3 separate regions of the Homo sapiens genome follow, and all the other regions are linked to region 3. The links are contacts of gene promoters, found by promoter capture Hi-C in human tissues and cell types (Jung and others, 2019). All regions are on one chromosome and are shown on one strand. Each heading gives the region's core, a stretch centred on a gene start or on the middle of the fragment in contact. The rest is flanking DNA. Distances are from core to core; before and after follow the strand shown. Region 1 has its middle 46 kb from the start of AADACL2. Region 2 overlaps AADACL2-AS1 (AADACL2 antisense RNA 1). Region 3 holds the start of AADACL2 (arylacetamide deacetylase like 2).

Region 1 (3,282 bases), core at 739-3,238, 46 kb before region 3:
AGACACATAAACCTTAACTTGTTCTGTTTACAAAGGCATAGTTTGAATACAGCTGTCCTTTTAAACTAATGAGTTTTACTTTTCTCATGGCTAAAATTTAAAAATCAAAGCTATAAAACCTTTTTATTTTATGTATACATGTGTACAGGTCTATGTTTGCATATTGTCTTCATGGTACTAGTCTGAGGGACCCAGAGGCAGACAACAGCGGAAGCTTGGGGCACAGTGTAGGTGAGCATGACTAATTCCTGCTGATTAGGCTCTCCCACTTTGTGGTTGGAGGTCTCACTCATATGCATGGCATAGATGAGGTCTAGGGAACTCAAAGGTTAATGACAGTGGGAGGCTTTGGCACTATGTAGGAGAGTGAATATTCCTGCCAGCTATGCCTTCCCGCTTCGTGAGTGAAGGTTGCATTTTCACCCATGGTCAGCATCTGCAATGGTTTATTACCAGTATGGTACTAAATTGACTTATAAATAAATAAGCACTCATAAATTAATATGCCCAAATGCTTTTCAGGTTCACGTGAGTTGAATAACTCTTTTGGTAAATACGGTTGCTATTAAACTAAAGTAGTTTAGTATTGTTATTTTAATAAAACAACTACGTCCTCTGAGTTATCCAGAAAATATACATATTTAACTTCAAAGTTCTCGCTTTTTTCATACTTGCCTAACAAACAGTAACATAAAAATGGCAAATAGGAAATTTAACTTGAGATAATGGCTGTATTTGTCTAACATGAAAATTTCCAAACAACTGTCAAGAATGAATAAAAGTTATAAATTAACTTTTAACAATAATTATGTTTTATAATACGTTTGCTTAAAATGGTTTTTCAAATATTTTTAATAACTATACCCTCAGAATTTTGCTAAGCTATATTAAATGATGAATATTTGTTGTTTTAGCAGTGGTGAATCTGTACAGGTCTGCAGCAACTCGATTTTTGCCTTCTCAGAAGGAAGAGTTCAGCCAAGGAGCATAAGGCAGGGTGAGAGACAGACAAGGTTTAGAGCAAGAGTGAAAGTTTATTAAAAACTTTTAGAGCAGGAACAAAAGGAAGTAAAGTACACTTGGAAAAGGGCCAAGCAGGAGACTAGCGAGATCCAAGTGCTCTGTCCAACCTTCGACTTGGGGTTTTATACATTGGCAAGATTCTGGGCTTTGCATTTCTTCTCCCTGATTCTTCTCTTGAGATGGGCTGTCCGCATGTGCAGTGGCCTGCTAGCACTTAGGAGGAGCTGCATGTGCAGTACGTTTACTGAAGTTGTGTGCATGCTCATCTAAGGCATTTTTCCCTTACTAGTTGAGTATTCCCAAAGGAGGGTTAGACACCAGTTAAACTCCATCATTTTACCTCTTAATGTGCATGCATACGCCCACTTGCCCAACTCCTGAGATTTTACCAGGAAGCTGGTAATCACCAGCTTCAGGTGCTTTCTATCTATTGGGAGACTGCCTTTCCCTAGTACCAACTTGACCAATTATTTTAGAGAGACAGTTTAACAACCACCTGACCATCACATGATGGTCTCTTGCCATTCCTGGCATGATGGGTGGGCTCTCCTGCCCTGCTCATGTCTGCCTAAGCTACCTACTCTAACAGTTGAATATCTAAATCACTTCCATATAAGATATAATTCCAAGACATTAATAATTAATTATGAGCTTAAGTATTTATGCTTTTGACTTATTATTTCAGAGAAACAAAAGTTATTTTGATCTATTAGTAAAAAGTCCTTTTCCACATTAAAAAAATTGTTAAATTAGAAAGCCTGTGTTTTCAAATATTATAAAATTTTTATTCATAAATTCTTGGCATGTGACCGACAGTTAAAAATTGCTTATTTCTTAGGTTTTCACTATGAATTGAGTTATTAAGAGTTAAAATTCTGGCTATTACATGTTAACTGCAACTAGATGTAAAAAGAGAAATAATTCCATATACAGAAAGTATGAGAAAATAAGATGTGTCTTTGGTAAGGAAGATTATAAGAAAGACATGAAGATGTGTTTTTTGTTAAACAAAAAGTAAGTTTGCCCTTTTAAAGGTTATGTAAAGGTTGTATTATATTCAAGGAATAAAAGAATAGAATGATAACTGAATATAGAAATATAGAAAGTAGTGAAAAGGAATAGAAAAATTATAATAAGTTATAAAAGATTTATGAAAATCTTATCTTGTATATTCAAAGCTGATTGAGATTGGATGGATCTGTTTATAACATTTTATTAAAATTAGCTTTAGCATTAATTATACAAAATTTCAATAGTATTAATAAGAAATAATAAAGGATTTTTAATTTACCTTTTCAGTAAACCGTAAAAACAAAAGAGAAAGGAAGAGACAGATTCTGTTGGTCTGATACTGTCTTTATTACGTCTTTTGATTGTTTGGAAAACTGAATTCCCTCTCTATTAAAAGGTAAACGTTTTGGCTTTTGGAATTTTTGAATTATCACTTTGACTAAATGAATGACTGTTATTTCATAGTAATCAGTCTACTTTGAAATCAAGTCTTTTTTAAACCTTTGACACATTTGGAAGGCTTTCCAAAATCAAATTTCAAAGTCTAAAATTAGGTTTGTTGATCTTGAACTAACTATTGGACATTCAAAAAAAGGAAGTCCAAGAGGGACACATTAGGCTTACTGGGATGTTAAAATTATATGGGAAGCATTGTCAAATATGAAATAGTGTTTGAAATACTTTGAATTATATTTGTATGAATATGTAATTAATATGTGTTCCAAAATTGCATGAGATTTCAAACAAAAATTCTGCTGTGTCTTGGTAAGCACAGTAAATTACTTTATTCTGATGCTTTATTTTCCTTTAAAAGTTCTTTGCAAATCCTAAAGTGTTGTGTCTTCAAGAAAATTTATGAAAAGAACCACGACAAGAACTCTTGAATATAGATTTCTGATAACTTTGGAGATCATACCATTGGACTAGATTTAAAAATTCAGACCTCTAATGAAAAACTGGTGGGTTTATGAAGATTATTAATCCAACATCAATCAGAACAATAATTAATTACATGGGACTGAACTGATGAAGGACTGACATTTCTAATGACATGACATTATTTCAAACACTGCTGGTTCTTTGATTGTTTTGTTTTCCAGACCTAAAAAAACTTTTTTTTCTTTTAAGCTGTTCATAGCTTACAGCAACTTGGTAAAGTTTACTTTAGTAAACAAAAATGGAAACATTTACTTCTTCTTCCCACCTCATCCCTCCAGAATTCGGAAACTATTAGTGAGTATTCTTGTT
Region 2 (3,660 bases), core at 8-2,507, 48 kb after region 3:
GAATTGAAAAAGGGGTAAGATTGTATGTAGATCCTTCAGAAATAAAAAAGAATTAGCCTTTAATAAGTTAATAATGCACACTGTAAGTCTTAAAAGAGATATTTTGAAAAACTTTTCAATTAAAACAAAATGGAAAAATATGTAAATAATCAAATTCCAAGAAAAATATAACTCACCAGATAGACACGAGAAATAAAAATCTGAGTCATTTAATAACTACTAAAATAATTAAATCAGTACAGGTTGAATATCCCTAATTTGAAAATTCAAAATTCAAAATGCTCCAGAATGTAAAATGTTATGAGCACCAATATGACACTCAAAGAAAATGCTAACTAGAGCATTTTGGATATTAATTTTTTGGATTGGGGATGCTGAACTAGTAGGTATGATACAAATATTCCAAAATAAAATTAAAAAAAAAAAACAGAAATCTGAAACATTTTTGTCCCACGCATTTTGAATAAGAGATACTCAAAATACAGTACCAGTAGAAAACCTCATTGGTAATACACGTTAAACATTCAAAGATGAAATAATTCCAAATAAACATGAAGTATGCCAGAGGATAGGAAAACTGTGTATATTCTCTGATTTATTTTCAGAGAAGCATATTTTTTATAACCAATCAAGCAAGAGCAGATTGTTGTCAGGAAACAAGAGCAAATTAATTTCAGGAATAAAACAATGAACCAATAACACGCATAAAACTAAGATATTAGCAACATGAACAAAATATACCATTATCAAGTTGCTAATAATGGAAGGAAACTGTATTTTATAAAAATCAGTTAATTTCCCTCATATTAGTAAATTACAGAAGCAAAATGATATAGCATCTCACTAGATGCAGAAAAAGAATTTGGGAAAAGTCACAATAATTGTTATCATTATTGGTTAACTAGGAATAGATAGAATTTCCTTAACCAGATAACCTACGTGGATTAAAAATGCGCACAGGTGGTATAATTCTAAAGAAACTTGCAATGTTAAATACCATAAAATAAAGAGTGATGATTTCTGGGAGGGAAGAAAGGTAAATGATCAATTCAGGGCATATGGTGAACTCCCTGAACCTTACAAATATTTGTTCTATTTTGCATTTCTGTTTTATGAAGCTATGTGCTTTCTTTTCTTTTCTTTTTTTTTTTTTTGACGGAGTCTCGCTCTGTCGCCAAGCTGGAGTGCTGTGGTGCCATCTCGGCTCACTGCAACCTCCGCCTCCCGGGTTCAAGCAATTCTCCTGCCTCAGCCTCACAAGTAGCTGGGACTACAGGCGTGCGCCACTATGCCCAGCTAACTTTTGTATTTTTAGTGGAGACGGGGTTTCACCATGTTGGCCAGGATGGTCTCGATCTCTTGACCTCGTGATCCGCCTGCCTTGGCCTGCCAAAGTACTGGGATTACAGGCGTGAGCCACCGTGCCCAGCCTATGTGCTTGATTTTCTATGTTTATTTTATTTAATAATAAAGGATTAATAAAATAACTGCACATTCAAAGATTTAGTTACCTGTAAAATTGAATTTATTGGTAAAACATAAAATATTTTTGTGTTTTTCCTTATCTAAAATCAGCCACCTATTAGCTACCTACTTAATTATTTACCACACCTCTACTAATGTAAACAGCATCTTTCATACTAGATATTGAGCTAAATGGAATGTGTGTGGCAATCTTACTTCAGCTATAACACTAAACTGATTATTTAAATTCAGAAATTATTTTTACATAAAAAATATTCTAATGGACTTATAAATATTTTATTTTGCTAAGTGGTTCCCGTTATTAACTTTGTTTTAAATGTAATAAAATAAAATTTGCTGCTATTTGGTTTTACTGCTGTATGTGCATATTTTATTTTATTTTTTATTTTTAGAAAGTGTTATATTTATGTTAAAGGAAGAATGTCAGCATGCTGTACTTTCTTCAACACTATATAGAAAATGCTGTTGCGAGTTTTCAGAAATAGACTTCCAATTTACCCATTAAACTTCGGTCTGAGAAGCACCCAAATGCATGTAGCTTCAATAATCACTATTTATGACCTATACCAGTGGATCCCAAATTTTAACTTGCATCAGAATCACCTGAAGTCCTTCTTAAAACTCAAATTGCTGGTCTCTACTCCCCTAATTTAGTACCCCATTAACAAGAAACATTTAGCACACCCTGAAAATATGCATGTTGATTTATAGATAATATTTCTCTTAACACCACTATAATTTGAATATTTAAAACATGAAAATTAAAATGAATTAGATTTTTATAGCAGGAATGAGAATCCTAATATGTTCTTGCTCAACTTTAATAAATATTTTTGTATTTATGGCTCCCAATCTCCCACAAAACACCTGAGAGAGTTATTTTCTAATTAGGATACCACTGCCCTATAGAAATTAAAAAAGATAATTATACAGATGATTGCAGCATGAAGAGAAAGAACACACTTGGAATACTCCCATTTAGAAAACAAATCAATCTGACCCACCTGTTTCACAGAGGGACTATAGGACTTACTCAGAACTAATTCGTTCAGTGTTAAAGCCAAATTAGAATTCTTAGTTATTTGATCCTTTTCTTTTTCTTTTTTTTTTTTTTTGTTTTTTGTTTTTTGTTTTTTGTTTTTGAGACGGAGTCTTGCTTTGTCACCCAGGCTGGAGTGCAGTTGGCCAGGCTGGAGTGCAGTGGCACAATCTCGGCTCACTGCAACCTCTGCCTCCCAGGTCCAAGCGATTCTCCTGCCTCAGCCTCCCCAGTAGCTGGGATTACAGGCGTGTGCCACCATGCTGGCTAATTTTTCTATTTTTAGTAGAGACGGGGTTTTACCATGTTGGCCAAGGCTGGTATCGAGCTCCTGACCTCAGGTGATCCACCCACCTTGGCCTCCCAAAGTGCTGGGATTACAGGCATGAGCCACCGTGTCCAGACTGAGATTTTGCTTTTTAATCACAGATTAGATGGTCTCTTTCCCCACCAATGAAAAAAATAGCACAAATCATTTTGCTTATATTAATAGTATTAAATTATAGATTCCTATAATATTGAAAATGGGAAAGTTCCTGAGATACATTTTTGTTGTTTCTGATTATCTTGTTGAGAATCTTAATTAATGGCACATCAATATATTGTTTTTAAATAAAAATGTTTTCAAATGAAAATTATTCAAGAAACTTATTTTTAATTGTTTTTCAGCTCATAGAAGACCCAGATGTCAAGATCAAACTCAAGCTTCAGTCTTTAATATATCCTGCCCTTCAGACGCTTGACATGGATTTACTATCACATCAGAAAAAACTAGACTCTCTAGTTCTGTCCAAACCATTCATGGTCAGGTTCTGTAGGGAATACTTTACCACAGACAGATCACTTGAAAAAGTCATGTTCTTCAACATGTACCAATGGAATCAAACCATCTGTTCAGATTTGTTAATTGGAGTTCCTTGCTCACTGAGAAGTTTAAGAAAGGCCACTTTTGTTATATTCCAACTCGTGGTAGTTCTGAGCTAGCTAAAAAATATCCAGGGTTCCTAGATGTGAGGGCAGCCCCTTTGTTGGCCAATGACAAGTTACATGGTTTACCCCTGTCCTATATCATCACCTGTCAATATGACATCTTAAGAGATGATGGACTCATGTACATCACGCGACTTTAGAACTCT
Region 3 (3,421 bases), core at 394-2,893:
TTATTATATATACATATATAATATATAACTATACAATATATAAATTTATATATTGTATAGTTATAATATATAAATGTGTGTCTCTATCCATATATTAGCATGTATATATGCATATGTGTGTGTGTGTGTGTGTGTGTATATATATATAAAAAAGTGTAAATTGGCCCATGCAATTATCTAGGCAAAGAAGTCCCACAGTATGCTGTATATAAGGTGGAGAACCAGAACCAGGAAAGTTAATGTTCTATAAAACCAGTCTGAGTCTGAAGACCTGAGAACTGGGAGCAGGGAGGTGGTGTCTGGTGTGAGTTTCAGAGTCTAAGGGCATAGGAACTAGGAGCTCTGATATCCAAGGGCAGGAGAAGATGGATGTCTGTTGTGGTTTGTTAAGTGAAGAAGAATTTAAGTTAGGTTTGGTGTAGTCAGGTACAGCACAATTAGACTACAATTACTTGCAGATTCCAGAAAGAGGAGTGTAAAATGCCTTGCAGAGCCAATGGAAAGGGTGAGGCAGTCAAGGACACTGTCTCTCACCCAGCAGATGAAAAGCAAGTGAGAGATGGAGGGACCTATGGGTAGAACCCTTTATTGGGGTTCAGGATTACCTAGATGGGTTTTCCACAACAGAGTTGGATTGGTTAATTTGAAGGAAGCATGAGTTTAAGTGTGAGAACTTGGGTTACATGATTGTGTTCACCAGACTTAAAGCAAAAATAAGGCAGCAAATGGGACCACATCTATGTTGAAACAGAAACTGGGTGGAGACTGTCTCAAAATATGTAGGACATTTGTGACAAGCTGGGGACGGACCAAGAAGGTGGTGCTGAGGCAGCACTAATATGAATTAGCGTTACAACAATGTCCCAGCCCAAGAAGAGAGTGAATTTACCTTTCCTTCACATTTTTGTTCTGTTCAGTCCATCAATGGATTGGATTCTGCCCACCCACACTGGGGAAGGTGATTTTCTTCATTCACTCTACCAGTTCAAATGCTGATTTTTTCCAGAAACACTCTCAAAGACATACCTAGAAATACTTTTTTACAAGCTATTTACTGTTCACAAGCATCCCTTAGCTCAGTCAAATTGACACATAAAGTTCATCATCATACTATGTAATCCTCTAAGAAAACAGATAATTGCACTGAGCTTCCAGGCTTAGTCTATGGAAAAATTCTAGTTTGATGCTTAATAGAACTCGGACAAGTTGCCTCATTCCTTGTTTTTTAATCCAAAACTTGTTTCACCACAAGAAAGTTTTGTTAACATGTTTAATAATCCATGATAATGGCATTAGCCTGGATTTTGACTTAATATCAGCAAGCTAAAAAAAAAAAACCTGTTCTTAAAATATGTTGCAACCACCACCCAATCACAAAAATTTACTTCATGACTTATTCAGTGCTGTCATTTAGGTTCATTTAGGTTTCATTTAGGTTTAAGTCTCAATAATAAAGTTGTTTTGGGCTGATGATGGTATCACAGGGTGAAGAAACACTGTAAGAGTATTACATTGCATGATAATAATGCATGCACGCCCTCATGAATTATGAGATCTGTTCCAGTCTGTGTGCTTGCAAAACAAGTTACTACTGACACTGTAACATTTGAATTGAAAATTAGCTTCATGTTGTTAAGATGATCATATCACCTGAGAGAGTTCCCAAGTCTACAATTGCTCTACTAGTTACTATTCAGTGTTTGTGAAAAATTTTAATCTCAGTACTGTGAAGAAGCTGGAAAAAGGGATATTATGGGGCTAAAAGCTCTCTGTTTGGGGCTGCTTTGTGTTCTTTTTGTCTCTCATTTTTACACACCCATGCCAGACAACATTGAAGAAAGCTGGAAAATAATGGCCTTGGATGCCATCGCTAAAACTTGTACATTTACGGTAAGGTTAACATTTATTTTTTCTGTTGGAAATTGGGATGACTTATTGACTAAAAATGGGTGCTTATGAACTCTTTTATTAATAGTATTAATATCACCATTTTGAAAGAACCATTGCTTGTTTGAGTAAATTAATTAAACAACATTAAGTAAATAAAACTCCCTATATCTGTGAGTAACAGTGAGACAGAATTCTCAATTCTAAGACTTTATGTCTAAACGTGACATGTATAAAATAAATTTATTGTGACATGTATAAAATAAATGGTATTGCTAAAGGAAAAGGCTTTGAGGTTTATTTGAGAACTTGACTTAAATTTGAACTTTCAGGGACAACCTAGTCCTGTAATTATCTTTTAGTTGTTTAGATACACATTATTGATATTTGTAACTCTTTGATATTAATTTAAGGCTCTTATTATTTAATGGCTTTCATTGTCCATCTTCAATTCTAAATTGCTGGTTTTCAGGCATTATCTGACTTGGCATGTGCAGAATGAATTATAAATTCATGCAAAAATAGCTCCTTTAAAAGGGAGAGATAGGGTTAGAAACTAATATTTTTGAGTTCTTAAGTTGTATAGGCTTTGTATAATATGTACTTCCATTGATTCCCCGCTATCCTGCAATTATTTTTATCAGGTTATGGGGTTGGGGAAGAGATTGAGAAGAACATATGCAGGTAAAAAGTAACAACTCCATAATTTGAACTATAAACTGTCTCATTTTGAAACCCATACTCTTTCTGCCAAGCCAGACAGCTTCCAGAAAGGGTAACAATAAGAGGCTCAAAGGAGAAGGCCACAGAAGATGATCAGAAAAAAAGAGAGCAACCCATGGTATAAAAAGAAGAGGCTGTCTTATGATGCTTTGTACAGCAAACAGTATATTTGCTTTGTGAAACCACAGTCAACTCCTTCTGATGTCTGCTAATAGTTTCCCCTGTAATCACTTCTAGAGGCTTACCTTCTCCATAAATTTTCTCCAATGCTCTTACTTCTTGAGTAAGCATAAGTGGGTAAGCAAGTGTCACTTCCACAGAGAAAATACTATGCTCCCTTTCTTGATTATCTAATTTGTATCTCAGGGCATTAACTTGTTTAAACCCTACTACAACCCACTGAAGTATTATTATTACTGTCATATAGACAAGGAAATTGAGCTACAGAGAGTAATTTTCTCAATGTCTATCAGCTAGTAAGTAGTAGCATAAGATGCTGGTTTAAATGGATGCAGACTTGGCTTTGACATTTACTGGCTACAACTTAGAGTTTCTGCATACTTCCTCGTCTTTAAATTATAAGGGTTAGCATGGTGGCTCACGATTGTAATTTCAGTACTTTGGGAGGCCAAGGCAGGTAGATCACCTGAGGCTAGGAGTTCAGGACCTGCCTGGCCAACATGGGGAAACCCCATCTCTACTAAAAATACAAAAATTAGCCAGCTGTTGTGGTGCACGCCTGTAATCCCAGCTACTGGGGAGGCTGAGGCAGGAGAATCACTTGAATCCAGGAGGCGGAGGTTGCAGTGAG

The links. Contacts are between HindIII fragments. The study calls those that stand out against the background at their distance.
Region 1: a fragment that was not itself captured here is called in contact with the fragment with the promoter of AADACL2 in region 3 in 1 of the 25 tissues and cell types used here (mesenchymal stem cells).
Region 2: a fragment that was not itself captured here is called in contact with the fragment with the promoter of AADACL2 in region 3 in 2 of the 25 tissues and cell types used here (H1 embryonic stem cells and liver).

What each region holds. Positions count from the first base shown.
Region 1 is chr3:151,686,181-151,689,462 of GRCh38, forward strand. No RefSeq gene overlaps it. Among named protein-coding and RNA genes, the nearest start is that of AADACL2, 46 kb to the right of the region's middle. The HindIII fragment of the contact is 4,948 bases long and covers 1-3,282 here.
Region 2 is chr3:151,780,639-151,784,298 of GRCh38, forward strand. All of the region lies in intron 1 of AADACL2-AS1 (AADACL2 antisense RNA 1), which reads right to left. It also overlaps the pseudogene AADACP1. Among named protein-coding and RNA genes, the nearest start is that of AADAC, 32 kb to the right of the region's middle. The HindIII fragment of the contact is 5,160 bases long and covers 1-3,660 here.
Region 3 is chr3:151,732,284-151,735,704 of GRCh38, forward strand. AADACL2 (arylacetamide deacetylase like 2) reads left to right here and starts at 1,644. Exons shown (of 5, transcript NM_207365.4): 1 at 1,644-1,890. The coding sequence starts at 1,753. The HindIII fragment of the contact is 19,032 bases long and covers 1-3,421 here.